3 separate regions of the Homo sapiens genome follow, and all the other regions are linked to region 1. The links are contacts of gene promoters, found by promoter capture Hi-C in blood cells and fetal thymus (Javierre and others, 2016). All regions are on one chromosome and are shown on one strand. The core of a region is centred on a gene start or on the middle of the fragment in contact, and the rest is flanking DNA. Distances in the headings are between cores, read along the strand shown.

Evidence for each region. The method cuts DNA at HindIII sites, captures the fragments that hold promoters and counts their contacts. A CHiCAGO score of 5 or more calls a contact.
Region 2: a contact is called between a fragment that was not itself captured here and the fragment with the promoter of KLLN in region 1, in 4 of 17 cell types (naive CD8 T cells, non-activated CD4 T cells, naive CD4 T cells and 1 more). The highest score is 7.9, in naive CD8 T cells.
Region 3: a contact is called between a fragment that was not itself captured here and the fragment with the promoter of KLLN in region 1, in 1 of 17 cell types (endothelial precursors). The highest score is 5.1, in endothelial precursors.

What each region holds. Positions count from the first base shown.
Region 1 is chr10:87,862,251-87,864,940 of GRCh38, reverse strand. It overlaps KLLN (killin, p53 regulated DNA replication inhibitor), which reads left to right and starts at 1,408. Exons shown (of 1, transcript NM_001126049.2): 1 at 1,408-2,690. The coding sequence starts at 2,454. It overlaps MLDHR (mitochondrial lactate dehydrogenase regulator), which reads right to left and starts at 1,382. Exons shown (of 1, transcript NM_001433720.1): 1 at 1,287-1,382. The coding sequence starts at 1,382. The coding sequence ends at 1,287. It overlaps PTEN (phosphatase and tensin homolog), which reads right to left and starts at 1,316. Exons shown (of 9, transcript NM_000314.8): 1 at 393-1,316. The coding sequence starts at 471. RefSeq lists silencers at 1,022-1,161, 1,252-1,561 and enhancers at 2,162-2,341, 2,592-2,681. The HindIII fragment of the contact is 7,182 bases long and covers 1-2,690 here.
Region 2 is chr10:88,194,207-88,196,896 of GRCh38, reverse strand. All of the region lies in intron 1 of LOC101929727 (a long non-coding RNA gene), which reads right to left. It also overlaps a transcript of RNLS not described here. Among named protein-coding and RNA genes, the nearest start is that of PTEN, 330 kb to the right of the region's middle. The HindIII fragment of the contact is 3,102 bases long and covers 1-2,690 here.
Region 3 is chr10:88,154,181-88,156,870 of GRCh38, reverse strand. All of the region lies in intron 1 of LOC101929727 (a long non-coding RNA gene), which reads right to left. Among named protein-coding and RNA genes, the nearest start is that of PTEN, 290 kb to the right of the region's middle. The HindIII fragment of the contact is 907 bases long and covers 922-1,828 here.

The sequences.
Region 1 (2,690 bases), core at 159-2,658:
TAGGGCCTAAGCCAAGATTTAATCGAAATATGCTCAACCTCAAAAAGCGTCTACTTTTTTGTTCATTTAGGAGACCGGATTACCGAGCTCGCTAATCCACTAACAGTGTACTGTATTCTGTATTAACGGACAATAGCCCTCAGGAAGAGACCATATAGATAGCCTAAGAAAGCAATCGGTGGCTTGACACTTGCAACCAGGCAAGAGTTCCGTCTAGCCAAACACACCCTAGGTTGAATACACAGAAAGGAAACACAAAATATATGACCTAGCAACCTGACCAGGGTTAAATGTTATAGTCACCCAAACTACGGACATTTTCGCATCCGTCTACTCCCACGTTCTAAGAGAGTGACAGAAAGGTAAAGAGGAGCAGCCGCAGAAATGGATACAGGTCAAGTCTAAGTCGAATCCATCCTCTTGATATCTCCTTTTGTTTCTGCTAACGATCTCTTTGATGATGGCTGTCATGTCTGGGAGCCTGTGGCTGAAGAAAAAGGAGGAGAGAGATGGCAGAAGCTGCTGGTGGCGGGGCTTCTTCTGCAGGATGGAAATGGCTCTGGACTTGGCGGTAGCTGATGCCCCTCGCTCTGCCGCCGCTTGGCTCTGGACCGCAGCCGGGTAATGGCTGCTGCGGCGGCTGCTGGATGGTTGCAGCGACTGGGCCTGCTTCTCCTCAGCAGCCAGAGGCCTGGCAGCGGCGGCAGCGGAATGGGGAGAAGACGAATAATCCTCCGAACGGCTGCCTCCGCCGGCGGCCTCCGGAGCCCGGGCCACGGGGGGTGCGGCGGCGGCGCACGGGAGGTTTAAAACCGGCCCGGGTCCCTGGATGTGCCAGCCGCCGCCGCCGCCGTGTTGGAGGCAGTAGAAGGGGAGAGACCAACTCTCCGGCGTTCCCAGCCCTGGAAATGGTGACAGGCGACTCAGACCCCCTCCCTGGAGCTGCAGCCGCCGCGGCCGCCGCCGCCGCCGCTTCTCCCCCCCGCTCCAGGAGCGGGAGGTGCCGCCGCCGCCGCCGCGCCTCAGCCGGCTCCCGCCCGAGCCCACGGCTTCCACCTTCCCTTTCAGGAGAAGCCGAGGAAGAGGCTGCACGGTTAGAAAAGACGAAGAGGAGGCGAGAAACGCCGCCGCTGCCGCCGCCGCAGGCCGGCCGGCTCCCCGAGGGCGCTGCCCCCGCGGCTGCTCACAGGCGCTGAGAGGGGCTCCGGGCCGCGGCCGCCGCCGTCTCTCATCTCCCTCGCCTGAGCCCGGCCTCGCCTCACAGCGGCTCAACTCTCAAACTTCCATCATGGCTGCAGCTTCCGAGAGGAGAGAACTGAGCGCAGTCGCGTCCCAGCGCCGAGCGCGTATCCTGCCGCAGCGCATAAAGAGTCCCGCCACATCACCGCCCGCCGGCCTGCCCGCCCCCTCCGCCGCCGCGCCGGGAGCCCGGGCGCCTCGGAAGACCGAGGGGAGGCGGGAGGCGAGCGAGAGGCGGACGGGACCGCGCCGGGCGAGGGGAGGGCAGGGCAGGGCAGGGGGCGGTAGGAGGGGGCAGAGCGGTAGCTCTGGGTGCGAGCGCAGAGTCCCCAAGCCGCAGGCTCTACTGAGCATGCCCAGTGTAGCTGCCTGGGGCTTGCTCGGGCCGGTTCCCAGCCGCCAGCCTGCAGCTGCACTTGCTGCGGCTTTTGCAGCAACGCGAGGCGAGGATAACGAGCTAAGCCTCGGCCTCTGCCCAGAAACCCAGCCGGAGGCAGGGTAGGCTGTTGTGGGGCGGGGGTGGAGGACTGATGATGAAAGCTGAGATGGGTGCGTTGAGCAGTGTCACTGACTCGAGTCTGAGGTTACCTGTGCACAGGTGAAAAGGACCAGGTGACCACGCTGCTCAGTGTAGAGGGAAATGCAGGGACGGTCCCTGCAAGGGGAATACCCTCCCCCCTTGCCTCTACCCCTAGATTTCCGCGGCGTGGACTGCATTCGCTCTTTCCTTTTGCACCGCTGTCGGATCACAATCGTTCGCAGAGATTTGACTGTAACAGCCTTTGCCTAGAGATTCCCCCTTCCCCCAAATCTGTGTCCTCATGGTGTCAGTCTTAGCACAAAGAGCAACCTGCTATTGTGTCGCCAGCGTGTATCACCTCATCCGGCTCCCTTGCAGCGCCCCACCTCTCGCTTCCCCGGTAACTCGGCTCGTTTGCCCTAAAAATGAAAGCTCTCAGCCGAGCGTGCTGAACGTGAACACATAGCCGTTGAATTTCAAGGGCCCAAAGGGCACCTATCTAAATGAACTGAAAGAGGATCCCTGTGAGTGGGACGCACCCCGCAGGCCTCTCCTGCGCCCGCTCCGGTGCCCCCAAGAGAGTCGAGCATCTTTCCCCTCGGGCTCCAGGTCGGTTCGCGGCGTCGGAGTCAAGCTCGGTTCTCAGAGACCACCTAGCCCCGCCCCCCCTTGGCCGCCGTGAAAACCCGGCAGGATGGATCGCCCGGGGCCAGGCTCCGCGCGCCCCGGCCGGACCGTGCACGTTTGGGGTTACCGGGTTGAGTGGAAAGTACGGAACGGTAGGAAGCTGCAGCCCAGCGAGTGGGCGGGGCGAGGAGACCTAGGAGGGTTCAAAAGGAGGTGGAAGGATACACGGGCCACAGTCGGAACTACTTTCCGAAGGAGGTCACGTGTGTCCCTAGTTGGGGAACTTTCCAAATTCCCACTCCCC
Region 2 (2,690 bases), core at 85-2,584, 330 kb before region 1:
CCCCAAAACATATTGGGCTGAGAATTAATATATAAACTGGAGAGATGAGGGGATTGAGGGTATTTTATCAATTGGCTATTACTGAGTAACAAGTAATACTTCAGTGGATTAATTAAAACAATAACCACTTATTCTTGCCCACGGGTCTGCAGGTCACCCGGGCATTGTCTCGTCTAAACTGGGCTCAGCTAGGTGGCTCTACCTCAAGCTATAAGTCTGGCTACACCTAGCCCCATGCTATGGGTTCTTTATGTATTCCTCTAGGCTTCAAGCTGAGGGGAAGCAGATAACTGAGAGAGAAATGATGCCTCTTATAGTCCAAGTGCAGAACTGGTACATGGTCACAGCCATCCACACTGCATTGACCAAAGCAAGTCACAGCCAGTGGAAAAATTGACTCTGCCTTTTGTGGGAGGGACTGCAATATCACATGGCAAAGGGTGTGGACCCAAAAACAGCTGAAGCATGAGGTCAATAATTCCATCTACCAAAGACATTTTCTGATTTGGAAAGGAATGGCTAATGTAGAGGGAATAGAATAGATAGAGAGGATCTATACAATCCCACTGACTTTCAAACGATTTGCCAGAAAGGGCTTTGCCTATGAATAAAACACCACATCTCATTTCTCTAACAAAGAAGACAATTAAAGACAAACCCTCCCACCCTCCCACTTTCCCCTTCTTTTTCCTTACAAAGTATACGAAATTGTAGGATGCCAAAATATTAGGCAAGCCTGACTAAAAAGAGAGATCCCTCAAGTCTCAAATTTCAACCATCTATAAAAGTAGCATTTGGAAAATTTCTGTGAAAAATGCAAACCTTTGCACTTGGGTCTCAGAGTCCCCATTTTATCTACACCTCTGTAATCTGTAAACACAGACGCCATCCTAACTGCATGACAAATAGGAACAAGTATCCTAATTAAACAAAAAGACAAAAGACCCTAGAAACATAAATTGGAAAGGACTCAGGTCATATTTTATTACAGAAAGCCAGGGAATGCCTCTAGCAATGTCACATTACTGGATAGAGCTGTATTTACATTTTGTTGAGTTGGTCCAGCAGTTCTAATGATGGGGCTGTTTTTGAATCAGGGAGATGGTTCCAATGAAAAACTGGATAGGTCTGTCTTTTCAGCAGAAATCTCCCTGGTATCATTTTCTTTTCTATTCTATTTAGGCAAGCTCCACAGTGCTAACTATTTCAGTTCCCAAGAGGCAAGGAAACTTGATGAGCTCTTTCTTGGGGTCTGTGTGGCATCTGGGTACCCTCTTGCTCCCACTCTCTAATGAACTATGGGGAAATTCTTCATGTAGCTTGGTGTACAGGTCAGCATCCAGATGTCTTCTTACCCCAAACTACAGGGTCTACAGGGTTGTTCAGCCCTTCCTTCCATTCAGCAAGTAGTTACAGATCTCCCATGGTGTGCCCAGCATTGTTGCCAGGCAATGGAGGGTAGCAAAGGAGGGGGGTGTGAAATTATGTTCTCTGCACAAAAAGCAGTATTGTCTATCCACTCACTAGGTTCAGAGCTTTAGTGGCTTTAGTTGCACTACAACTGGACAACTAGGGGTTAAGTGTTTTGAGCTTTGCTTATAAAAAGACAGACCCAAATCAGATAAGGTAACTAATTTAGAAGCAATTACAATGCATTTTATCCTATTCTTTTGCCAAAGAGCACCTTATCTAAGCTGGCTTTCCTTTTTACTTTTCCTTTTAAGTCTCAAAAATATCTCATTCAGGGTCAGGAAAAAGAAGACGCACAGACCAAGCATTTTGAAAAGGGGATGATGAATGCATTGGATGCTTACACTGTGTTGAAGAGGGAATTTGGATCCAACACCCACCAGGTCTTAGGGCTTGACAGACTCACTCGAGTATGCCTGACCAACCTCATATTCTGGTGGGGATTTTTGTTTTCCATGAACATATGGATTGTGTTAGTCTTTAGGAAGCACTTAAGCTAAAAAAGAAAACAAAGTTAAGATACAGTACTTTTTATTATATGAAAGCCTAGTTCCTCTTTTTGTACTATTTAGTATTCTGCCCCTGGTTATTTCAAAATAAACAATTTTTGAAGATAAGTAAATAAGCATTGCTATTGAATACAGTGGTTCTCATACTCTTGGATGCATAAGAATCCCCTTGGGAGTTTGTTAAAAATCCAGATTTCAATACAGTAGACCTAGATAATAACCCGCAAAATTTCCATTTTTAATCATTTCTCCAGAAGATGTGGTTTACAAACAAGACTTTGAACATCACTGGTCTAATTACCTTTCTGATTGTCTTTGGTTGACTCTTAGTCATTTGTATTATGGCTTACTTCTGACTCTACCAGTGAATGACAAAGCATGACCTATTCTTGCTTTTCAGAAAGCACTTGCCTCTCCCTGGCTATATTCATTTGTGATTGGCCCAAGATGAGAGAGATATCACCTGAGTCATCAGAGAAGGAGGCTTGAGCCACTTTGTCCCAGGACTCAGAGGAAAATATGGGAGACCTCTAGACCAGTGCTTTTGAACCAGGAGCAATTTTGCTCTCTACATTTAACAGTATCTGGAGACATTTTTGGCTATCACAATCTCAGCATGAGGGGGGACAGTGAGGAACGCTACTTGCATCTGGTGGGTGGAGACAGCGTTGCTGCTAAACATCCTGTCATGCAGAGTACACCCCTCCACAA
Region 3 (2,690 bases), core at 126-2,625, 290 kb before region 1:
TCTGAGTTGCATCTCCTTGTGTTTGTACCTCGTTGCAGCTGGGAAGAGTCAGAGGGACAAACAAGTTTCAGATTTTTAAACCGAAGGAAACTCTGACAGAAAATCCAGCGCTTGCTGGACCATTCTGATTCTCACCCAGCAAGGGTTAAATTATGCTCAGGAGGATCTCAGGAGACAGCAGGGTCCAAAAAAAGAAGGAAGGGTGTTGTCCCTGGGAGAAAGATGTGCCTTGAAAGCCCAGATGCCCTCACTCATGCACATGGCAGTGCTTGGTGAGGACCTCCACCCTTGAGTCAGCAGAGCTGTGTGCATGTGGCTGACCTCTGGTCACATATCTCAGCCCATACCATAAAACATCAACTTTCTGGAATCCCCATGAACTGACTCATTGTGGAGAGAGTTGAGGACTTACTTTTTAAAGCACCCAACACTTGACAAAATATCACCATTACCTTTGTAATGAAAATGTCTTAATGGGTCACAGACTTCCTTGGCTTTTTAAGCCGAGTAGGTGGAGTATAACTTATCCTTTCCTTGACAACTGACCATCATGAATGATGCTGATGCTGCTGTTCTGAGCAACCATATTTTGAGTAACAAGGTTCTAGATGATCTATGGAAAAGTACTAGGGAATGTAACAACTAGAATTAGCTAGAAGGGCACCATCATGAACATCCATTATTATACTGGGTTGTATACACTCATCTTCTTGGGATATTTTGAAGCATGTTGGAAAGAGGTTTCCACTAAACTAAATATTTCCAGATTACTGCCTGAGCTTTCTTAGTACTTCTCTGTGCTTCATTTAATATTTTTTGTCTTGTCTTTTATTCTTTTGCCCTTGCCTGCCTATATCTATCTCTTGTTCTCTCCAAACCCCTCTAACTTGCCTCTTCCCTTCTACTATAGACAGCCAAGCTTTATAAAATAGGTTGTAAAATAGGTACAAATAACACTTTAAAAGGGTGAATTTTATGATATATGAATTATATCTCAATAAAGCTATTTTAAAGTGCATTGCAAACTATAAAATCTTACAAAAGGTGAGAAATCACATCACTCTGTTTATATGATAATAAACTATTTCACTCTTTTATTTAAAAATATAAAAGCCCAAATAGGCTCTGAGTTGACTTAGAACTTCTCCAGAAGTAATATGCCTAAGAGTTAATGTATGGCCTTTGAGACATCTATTTTTGTTTACATAGGTGATTTTTTGGCTTAGTTCTTCATCTTGTAAGTGAAATTAATAGTGAGATGTGGTATGACTCTAGCTGCTTTGATTGAAGCCTCCTTCTTTATCCTTTCTTCATTCATTTGGCATTTTTGGATGGCCTACTCTGTGCTGGGCCCTAGGAGTAAACATGAATTTCTAAGTGATTCATAAGCAAATGAGTCCTTGTGCAGATCTTTAGGTGTAACACTCTAGGAAGTATGAGTTTTAATGCTTCCTTGATTTTTTTCCCTTAATAACTTCATGACCCCCAAATCCAATCAGTCCCTATAGAAGCAGCATAACCAACCAATTGGATTGCCAGCCTGTTGTTGGAGAGTTGGCCCACAGAGTGGAGATTCCTGATCAGAGGACAAAGCTGAAAGGACAACATAGAACTACTTCTAATTGTCACATTCCCTAGTACTTTTCCATAGATCAGCTAGAACCTTATTACTCAAAGTATGGTTGCTCAGAACAGCAGCATCAGCATCATTCTCATCACACCTTGTAGTGTGTGAGAAATAGAAAATCTTAGGCTCCACCCAAGACCTATTACAGTAGAAGCAGCCTTTTAACAAGATGCCCAAATGATTCATATGCTCATTAAAGCTTGAAAAGCACTGATCTAGATAATATTTTACACTAGCATGCCTGAAACACCTGTCTCTTCACCCACTGCAATAATCACAGCTTTCAGAGCCCTTAGATGAATGATGCCCAACATGAGAGGCCATCGTTTGGCACAGAGGCACATCCCACCAGTTAGTAGGCAGAAGACGGTCTTGATGATGCTGAGCAGATGTTCAGCGTTCTTGCTGAACAGTCAGAGACCATTGCTGTTCTCTTCACAATGTCTGTCAGGTTCAATAACTCTTCTCCAGTGACTCACCTCTTTATACACACGTGCTGTAATTTTCTTTAAAGACTAGTTTGTCAGCAGCATCCAAAGCTGGATCTACTTCCTTTGTTGCAAAACTTCATCTGTATTCTTGGAAATACCCGCCCCCCAGTTCAAATTCAACTCTAGTCTTCCTAACACCATTTCATTCATCCATTCGTTCACTTGAAAAGTACTTACTGAAAGATTACTATGTGCCAGGGACTACCAGCATCTCCACCATGTAAACATTTGCACTCCCTCTCTGCCAACTAGCTTGCTTGCTTGCCTTTAACACTTAGTTTCTACTTTTTACATAATATTGGAAACATTTTTAAGTAGAAAACATACTCTCTATCCTTAAATAACTAATACTGTAATTGAGAGGGCAAGATATAGAATTTAAAAATATGTGAAGAGTAAATTTTCAAGTCCCAAAAGGGATGATATATCCTATACTACAACAAGCACTGCATTGTGCCTGAGTCAAGAATCCATTAATCCACTTCAGGATCCTAGATACGTCTCTTTGTCCTTCTAATTTTCAGTTTCTTCTTTGTCTTTTTTGTTGTTTGTTTTTGTTTGTTTGAGACAGC